2 separate regions of the Homo sapiens genome follow, and region 2 is linked to region 1. The links are contacts of gene promoters, found by promoter capture Hi-C in blood cells and fetal thymus (Javierre and others, 2016). All regions are on one chromosome and are shown on one strand. Each heading gives the region's core, a stretch centred on a gene start or on the middle of the fragment in contact. The rest is flanking DNA. Distances are from core to core; before and after follow the strand shown. Region 1 holds the start of ENTPD8 (ectonucleoside triphosphate diphosphohydrolase 8). Region 2 holds the start of DPH7 (diphthamide biosynthesis 7).

Evidence for each region. Contacts are between HindIII fragments. The CHiCAGO score rates a contact against its expected background, and 5 or more counts as called.
Region 2: a contact is called between the fragment with the promoter of DPH7 here and the fragment with the promoter of ENTPD8 in region 1, in 4 of 17 cell types (non-activated CD4 T cells, naive CD8 T cells, total CD4 T cells and 1 more). The highest score is 6.9, in non-activated CD4 T cells.

The regions. Positions count from the first base shown.
Region 1 is chr9:137,439,386-137,442,606 of GRCh38, reverse strand. ENTPD8 (ectonucleoside triphosphate diphosphohydrolase 8) reads left to right here and starts at 1,250. Exons shown (of 10, transcript NM_001033113.2): 1 at 1,250-1,321. RefSeq lists a silencer at 1,096-1,390. The HindIII fragment of the contact is 13,084 bases long and covers 429-3,221 here.
Region 2 is chr9:137,577,488-137,580,708 of GRCh38, reverse strand. It overlaps DPH7 (diphthamide biosynthesis 7), which reads left to right and starts at 1,784. Exons shown (of 9, transcript NM_138778.5): 1 at 1,784-2,084; 2 at 3,106-3,221. The coding sequence starts at 1,932. RefSeq lists enhancers at 1,379-1,438, 533-1,504 and a silencer at 1,689-2,098. The HindIII fragment of the contact is 6,073 bases long and covers 105-3,221 here.

The DNA.
Region 1 (3,221 bases), core at 1-2,500:
TAGCCTGGGTGACAGAGCGAGACTCCATCTCAAAAAAAAAAAAAAAAAAGGACAACTTCCCAGACTCATTTTATAAGCCCAGCATTATCCCCATACAGAAACCAGGACTAAAAAAGAAAACTATGCAACTTTGTTGAACACAACTGCAAAAATCCTCAACAAACACATTTGACTCTTATGACCCATGGCAGCTAGTGTATAAAGTTGCTGCAAACACTGAATTAAAGAATATGCTAAACTATTGCTCCTAAGGGAAATGCAAAGTTCTGTTCCTGCAAGCTTCTGGTCACATTTTTGTTAAATGATCAATATATTAATAAAACCTTCTTTTATGTGTATTTTTGTTTAAGGGCACCTTACTTAATATGTATTGTATCACTAACATTGAACTCATGGCCAACAGCGCTAACTCTTGCACGAATGAAGCTTATCCAATGTGTGTTTTCTCTGTAAAGTGCATCTCAGCCTTCTTGCATTTCTGCACTATGCTGAGACGCCATTATAAACAGTGAAATCACCAAGAAAAAGCACAAAAATGCACACACATGACACCAAATATGCTACCAGTAAAGAGAGTCCCGATTGAGACCCCAAGAGGGTTCTTGGATCTCACACAGAAAGGAATTCACCGCCCCCCCGCATTCCCCCACCCTATTCCCCGCCCCCCAACACCCCCAGCCCCACCCAGCCCGGCCCTGGCTCCGCGCCTCCCCCAGCCCCGCCCCGCTTCAGAGGCCCGGACCCCGACGGCGGCGGCCCCGGGACCCACGGCGAGCGGGAAAGGCAGAGTGGCTGCAAATGGAAAACGACGGGCGCCGCGGGGCTGCAGGCGCTTCCGCCCCCGCCCCGGGCCTGGACCTTCGGGGTCACCTGACTCCGACCTGCCCGGGCCGGGCGGCACGGGGGGTAAAGTCCGGGCCGGGGTCAGGAGCGCGGCTGCGGGCCGTGGGGGGCGGGGTCCCGGAGTTCTGCCCCTCGCAGCTCCAGGCTCCTCCTCAGCTTCCCTCTCCTGCCTCCCACCCCCCCGGGGGCGGGGCGACCCTGGGCACCGAGACAGACCCGCGGGTGGGAGATGCGGGGAGACCCTGGGCGGGGGACCCGAGGGTGGAGTGGGCGGGGCGACCTTGGGCGCTGGCCTCAGCCTGCGGGCCCTGGAGCCAGGTGCACAGCGCATCGCCCGAGGCTGTCACCGCCCTGCCCCGCCCACCCCAGCTGTCCTGGACCCAGGGGCAGGGAGAGGCTGGACGCCAGGTGCGCGGACACAGAAGCGTCTAAGCACAGCTTCCTCCTTGCCGCTCCGGGAAGTGGGCAGCCAGCCCAGGTGAGGGTCCAAAGGGATGTCCTGGGGGGGCTGTCCTGGTCTGGGGGGCTGTCCTGGTCTGGGGGGCTGTCCTGGTCTGGGGGGCTGTCCTGGTCTGGGGGGGCTGTCCTGGTCTGGGGGGCTGTCCTGGTCTGGGGGGGCTGTCCTGGTCTGGGGGACTGTTCTGTCTGAGGGGGTGTCCTGGTCTGGGGGGGCTGTCCTGGTCTGGGGGGCTGTCCTGGTCTGGGGGGCTGTCCTGGTCTGGGGGGCTGTCCTGGTCTGGGGGGGCTGTCCTGGTCTGGGGGGCTGTCCTGGTCTGGGGGGGCTGTCCTGGTCTGGGGGACTGTTCTGTCTGAGGGGGTGTCCTGGTCTGGGGGGGCTGTCCTGGTCTGGGGGGCTGTCCTGGTCTGGGGGGCTGTCCTGGTCTGGGGGGGGCTGTCCTGGTCTGGGGGGCTGTCCTGGTCTGGGGGGGCTGTCCTGGTCTGGGGGGCTGTCCTGGTCTGGGGGGGCTGTCCTGGTCTGGGGGACTGTTCTGTCTGAGGGGGTGTCCTGGTCTGGGGGGGCTGTCCTGGTCTGGGGGGCTGTCCTGGTCTGGGGGGGCTGTCCTGGTCTGGGGGGGGCTGTCCTGGTCTGGGGGGCTGTCCTGGTCTGGGGGGGCTGTCCTGGTCTGGGGGGCTGTCCTGGTCTGGGGGGGCTGTCCTGGTCTGGGGGACTGTTCTGTCTGAGGGGGTGTCCTGGTCTGGGGGGCTCTCCTGGTCTGGGGGGGGCTGTCCTGGTCTGGGGGGCTGTCCTGGTCTGGGGGACTGTTCTGTCTGAGGGGGTGTCCTGGCCTGGGGGGCTCTCCTGGTCTGGGGGGGGGCTGTCCTGGTCTGGGGGGCTGTCCTGGTCTGGGGGGGGCTGTCCTGGTCTGGGGGCTGTCCTGGTCTGGGAATCTGTTCTGTGTGAGGGGGTGTCCTGGTCTGGGGGGCTCTCCTGGTCTGGGGGGGGCTGTCCTGGTCTGGCGGGGGCTGTCCTGGTCTGGGGGGCTGTCCTGGTCTGGGGGGCTGTCCTGATCTGGGAGTCTGTTCTGTGTGAGGGGGTGTCCTGGTCTGGGGGGGCTGTCCTGGTCTCAGGGACTGTTCTGTGTGAGGGGATGTCCTGGCCTGGGGGACTCTCCTGGTCTGGGGGGGCTGTCCTGGTCTGGGGGGGCTGTCCTGGTCTGGGGGGCTGTCCTGGTCTGGGGGGGCTGTCCTGGTCTGGGGGACTGTTCTGTCTGAGGGGGTGTCCTGGTCTGGGGGGCTCTCCTGGTCTGGGGGGGGCTGTCCTGGTCTGGGGGGCTGTCCTGGTCTGGGGGACTGTTCTGTCTGAGGGGGTGTCCTGGTCTGGGGGGCTCTCCTGGTCTGGGGGCACTGTCCTGGTCTCGGGGGGGCTGTTCTGGTCTGGGGGGCGCTTTCCTGGTCTGAGGAGCTGTTCTGATCTGGGAGGCTGTTCTGGTCTTGGGGGTCTTTTGAGTGTGGGAGAGGTTGCCCCAACCTCTTTGCCTACCTGGAGGCTCAGGCCTGGGGGTCTCAGGTGGCTACATCTTCTGGGTGTGGAGTCCCTGTGTTCCTGGCCCCTGTCACCTGTTTGTCCCTATGAGGTGGCCTATGGCCTGGGTGCTGGTTGGGGACACAGGCTGGGCCCTGTCTGGGCTGGACCGGCCTCCTGTCCTCTCTGAGCCTCTGTCATCTACCCTCCTTAAAATGGGCTTATATCCCCCGGACATACAGAATTGCGTGAGGACCCCACAGCGTGTCCCACTTTCCACGTGCCCAGGAGCCCCAGGTCAGGACCAGGGCAGCACCCGCGCCTGCCACTCAGTGTGGGTGCAACGTTTCCCGGGGGAACACGATAGGACACGGTCACATGGGGTTCAGGTGCCGGGACCTTGGCAGGCAGCCTC
Region 2 (3,221 bases), core at 535-3,034, 140 kb before region 1:
CTTTCCCGTTCCGTGGCCCCGACTTCTTGGTCTTCGTAGCCAGGTATCTAAGACGTCCTGTGAGGACATCCAGATGGCTGCAATGTGGGGCTGCTTCTAAAGCTTGTTTGGAGTGTGGTGTGTTGGGATGCGCACCTGGTCACTCTCCCTCCCCCGCAGAGGTGTGTGGTTGAGGCCCTTTTGGAATGCCCTGCTGCCTTCCTGGCCAGCCTTTTCTGCGCCTCTGTCTCTGTGGTGGTCTGAGCTGTTGGCTCTCTGCCATGTCTTTAGCCACAGCCCTGCTTGAAGCCCTGAGGCTGAATACCCAGGCACCCGTATATTTCAGTCAAGTCCGCCTTAGCTTCCTGGAGCTGCCGCAACAAAGCAGCGCGAGCTGTGCAGCCTGAAGCAGCGGGAATTCACAGTCTAGGCTCTGGAGGCCGGAGTCTCAGATGAAGGCGCAGGCAAGGGCCCTCAGGTGCGGACGCCTCCTCCCTGCCAGGTGCCTTGCCTGCCTCCCTGTGCTCTGCACAGCAATGGCCCTGCAAGTCTTCTGCATCAGCTTTCTCTTCTGCGGACTCCTGCTCCTCTGGGTCAGGGCCCACGCCTGCTGCTTCTGAGAGCCCCTGTTTGTTAAGGATGCTCTCTGAGGTGCTGGGGTCTTCAGTCCATTGTTTTTTGGGGGGCACAGTTCAACCTGTAACGGCCCAAGGGGTTCTTCCTGCCCGCTGCACACATTCAGACCGTGGATTGCAATAAAGAAAAAAAGTTTAGGGCCGGGCGCAGTGGCTCACACCTGTAACCCCAGCACTTTGGGAGGCCGAGGCGGGTGGATCACGAGGTCAGAAGATCGAGACCATCCTGGCTAACACGGTGAAACCCCGTCTCTACTAAAAATACAAAAAATTAGCTGGGCGTGGTGATGCGCGCCTGTAGTCCCAGCTACTGGGGAGGCTGAGGCAGGAGAATGGCTTAAACCCGGGAGGCGGAGCTTGCAGTGAACTGAGATCGCGCCACTGCACTCCAGCCTGGGTGACAGAGCAAGACTCCGTCTCAAAAAAAAAAAACAAAAAAATTAATAGACACGGGCCGGCCAGGCCACATGTGAGATGGAGTTCGTCCTCAGATCATCTTGTCCAAAGCTCCTAGGTTAGGGGTTTTTTCAAAGGCAGTTTTGGGGGAGGGGGGCGGCGGCCAGGCGACTGGTGCTGATAATCATAGGGGTCGGAGCCGTCCACCTGCTGAGCCGCTTCTGGGGGGTCCTGATGCAGCCACGGGTGTCAGACAAGCAAAGACCCTGGAAGGCGGTCTCTGAGGGGCAGCTCCGCCATGGCGGGTTCACAGGAGGCAGGCAGAGCGCGCCTGCGGCCTCGGGGTGCTGGGCTTAGTGGGGCGCGGGCTCCTCATCAGCTTTACGAAGGCGTTGATTCCGGGGCAAGGCCTGTCATGGAAACTGCAGCCTAAATGTTAAGTCAGCGCGGCCCGATGGCCAGGAGTAACCGGGAGGGCGCCACGGGGTGCGCTACCGCAGCTCGCTGTTGGGGTTTTTCTCAGTGATAGAAATTTTGCAGAGGCGGCTTCAAACCTACGGCTCTGTCACTAACTTGCCGTCTCCAAACCTGCTTTGTGGAGGAGCGGATTTCCCGAAGCCTTCGGTCTCTACGGCCCCGCAGGGAGCAGCGCGTCTGACGCCTGAAGCCCGCCGCGGTCAGCCGGCCGACAGGGGGCGTGGGAGCCTGGCTTCCCAGGGGCGTCCACGGAGGCCAAGGCCCTGCCGGATGTCCCGCCCCGGCACCCCGGAAGGAGTCGCGAGAGAGGCGGCCCGCGCTGACGGTGTCCCTGGGGCTCTGCGCTCGTCCGGCCGGCCCCGGCCTCGCCGCCCCGCGCAGTACCCAGCCCGGCCCCGCCGACCCGCCTCTACTGCCGGCTCCGCGCCCTTCCCCGAGGGCTGGATGATGGGCTGTTTCGCCCTGCAAACGGTGGACACCGAGCTGACCGCGGACTCGGTGGAGTGGTGCCCGCTGCAAGGCTGCAGGCACCTGCTGGCGTGCGGGACCTACCAGCTGCGGCGGCCGGAGGACCGGCCTGCCGGCCCCCAGAACAAGGTGCGCGCGCCGCGGCTTCGGGAGGGGAGGGCGGGGCCGGCCACGAGGTTGAGGCCGAAAGGCGCACCGAATCGCCCAGGAGATGAAGAGGGGATATTGGCCCTTTGGCCAGGAGGTAGGCTGGAAACAGTTTAGAATCTTTTTAAAAAAATTGTTCTCGGCCGGGCGCAGTGGCTCACGCCTGTAATCCCAGCACTTTGGGAGGCCGAGGCGGACGGATCACGAGGTCAGGAGATCGAGACCATCCTGGCTAACATGGTGAAACCCCGTCTCTACTAAAAAAATACAAAACAATTAGCCGGGCGTGGTGGCGGCGCCTGTAGTCCCAGCCACTCGGGAGGCTGAGGCAGGAGAATGGCGTGAACCCGGGAGGCAGAGCTTGCAGTGAGCCGAGATCGCACCACTGCATTCCAGCCTGGGCGATACAGCAAGACTACATCTCAAAAAAAAGAAATTACTTTTTTCTGAGACAAGGTCTTGCACTGTCACCCAGGCTGGAGTGCAGCCTCGGACTCCAGGGCTCAGGGCATCCTCCCGCCTCAACCCCCTGAGTAGCTGGCACCACAGGCACGAGCCACCGCCCCCGGCCAACTTTAAAATCTTGAGAGCAGAACGTCTTCTATATACAGGTGTGGCCCAAGGGAATGGGTGGAATGTACAGTAAAGAGAAAGTGGGAATTATATCTTAACTTCTGGTGGGTACATATTAGGATCCAAATTGGGCACTGGAACAACAGGCGTAAGTCAGGACTGTCCCAGGCAAACTGGGTTCTGTGGTTACCCTAGCCATAGCTGGTCCCTGTTGGCCGGTTTAGAAGGAGCCTTCTCTACTGGGTCCAGGAGTGTTCACCTACTCATTAATAGACGTTTCTCCAGCTCAGAAAACCAGAGGTTCTCCTTCCAGGCAGAATTCCACTCCTTTAGTCATGGCAAACCTTTGAGTTCCTTGGATCCCTTTTCCCATCCTTTGGGTTCCTTCGTGTCTTGGGATAATCAGAGACTACCTCTGCATTTTTTGTAGGGTGGAATGGAAGTTAAGGAGCCTCAGGTCCGTTTAGGCCGTCTCTTCCTGTACAGTTTCAATGACAACAACTCTATTCACCCTCTGGTCGAGGTCCAAAGAAAAGATACTTCTGC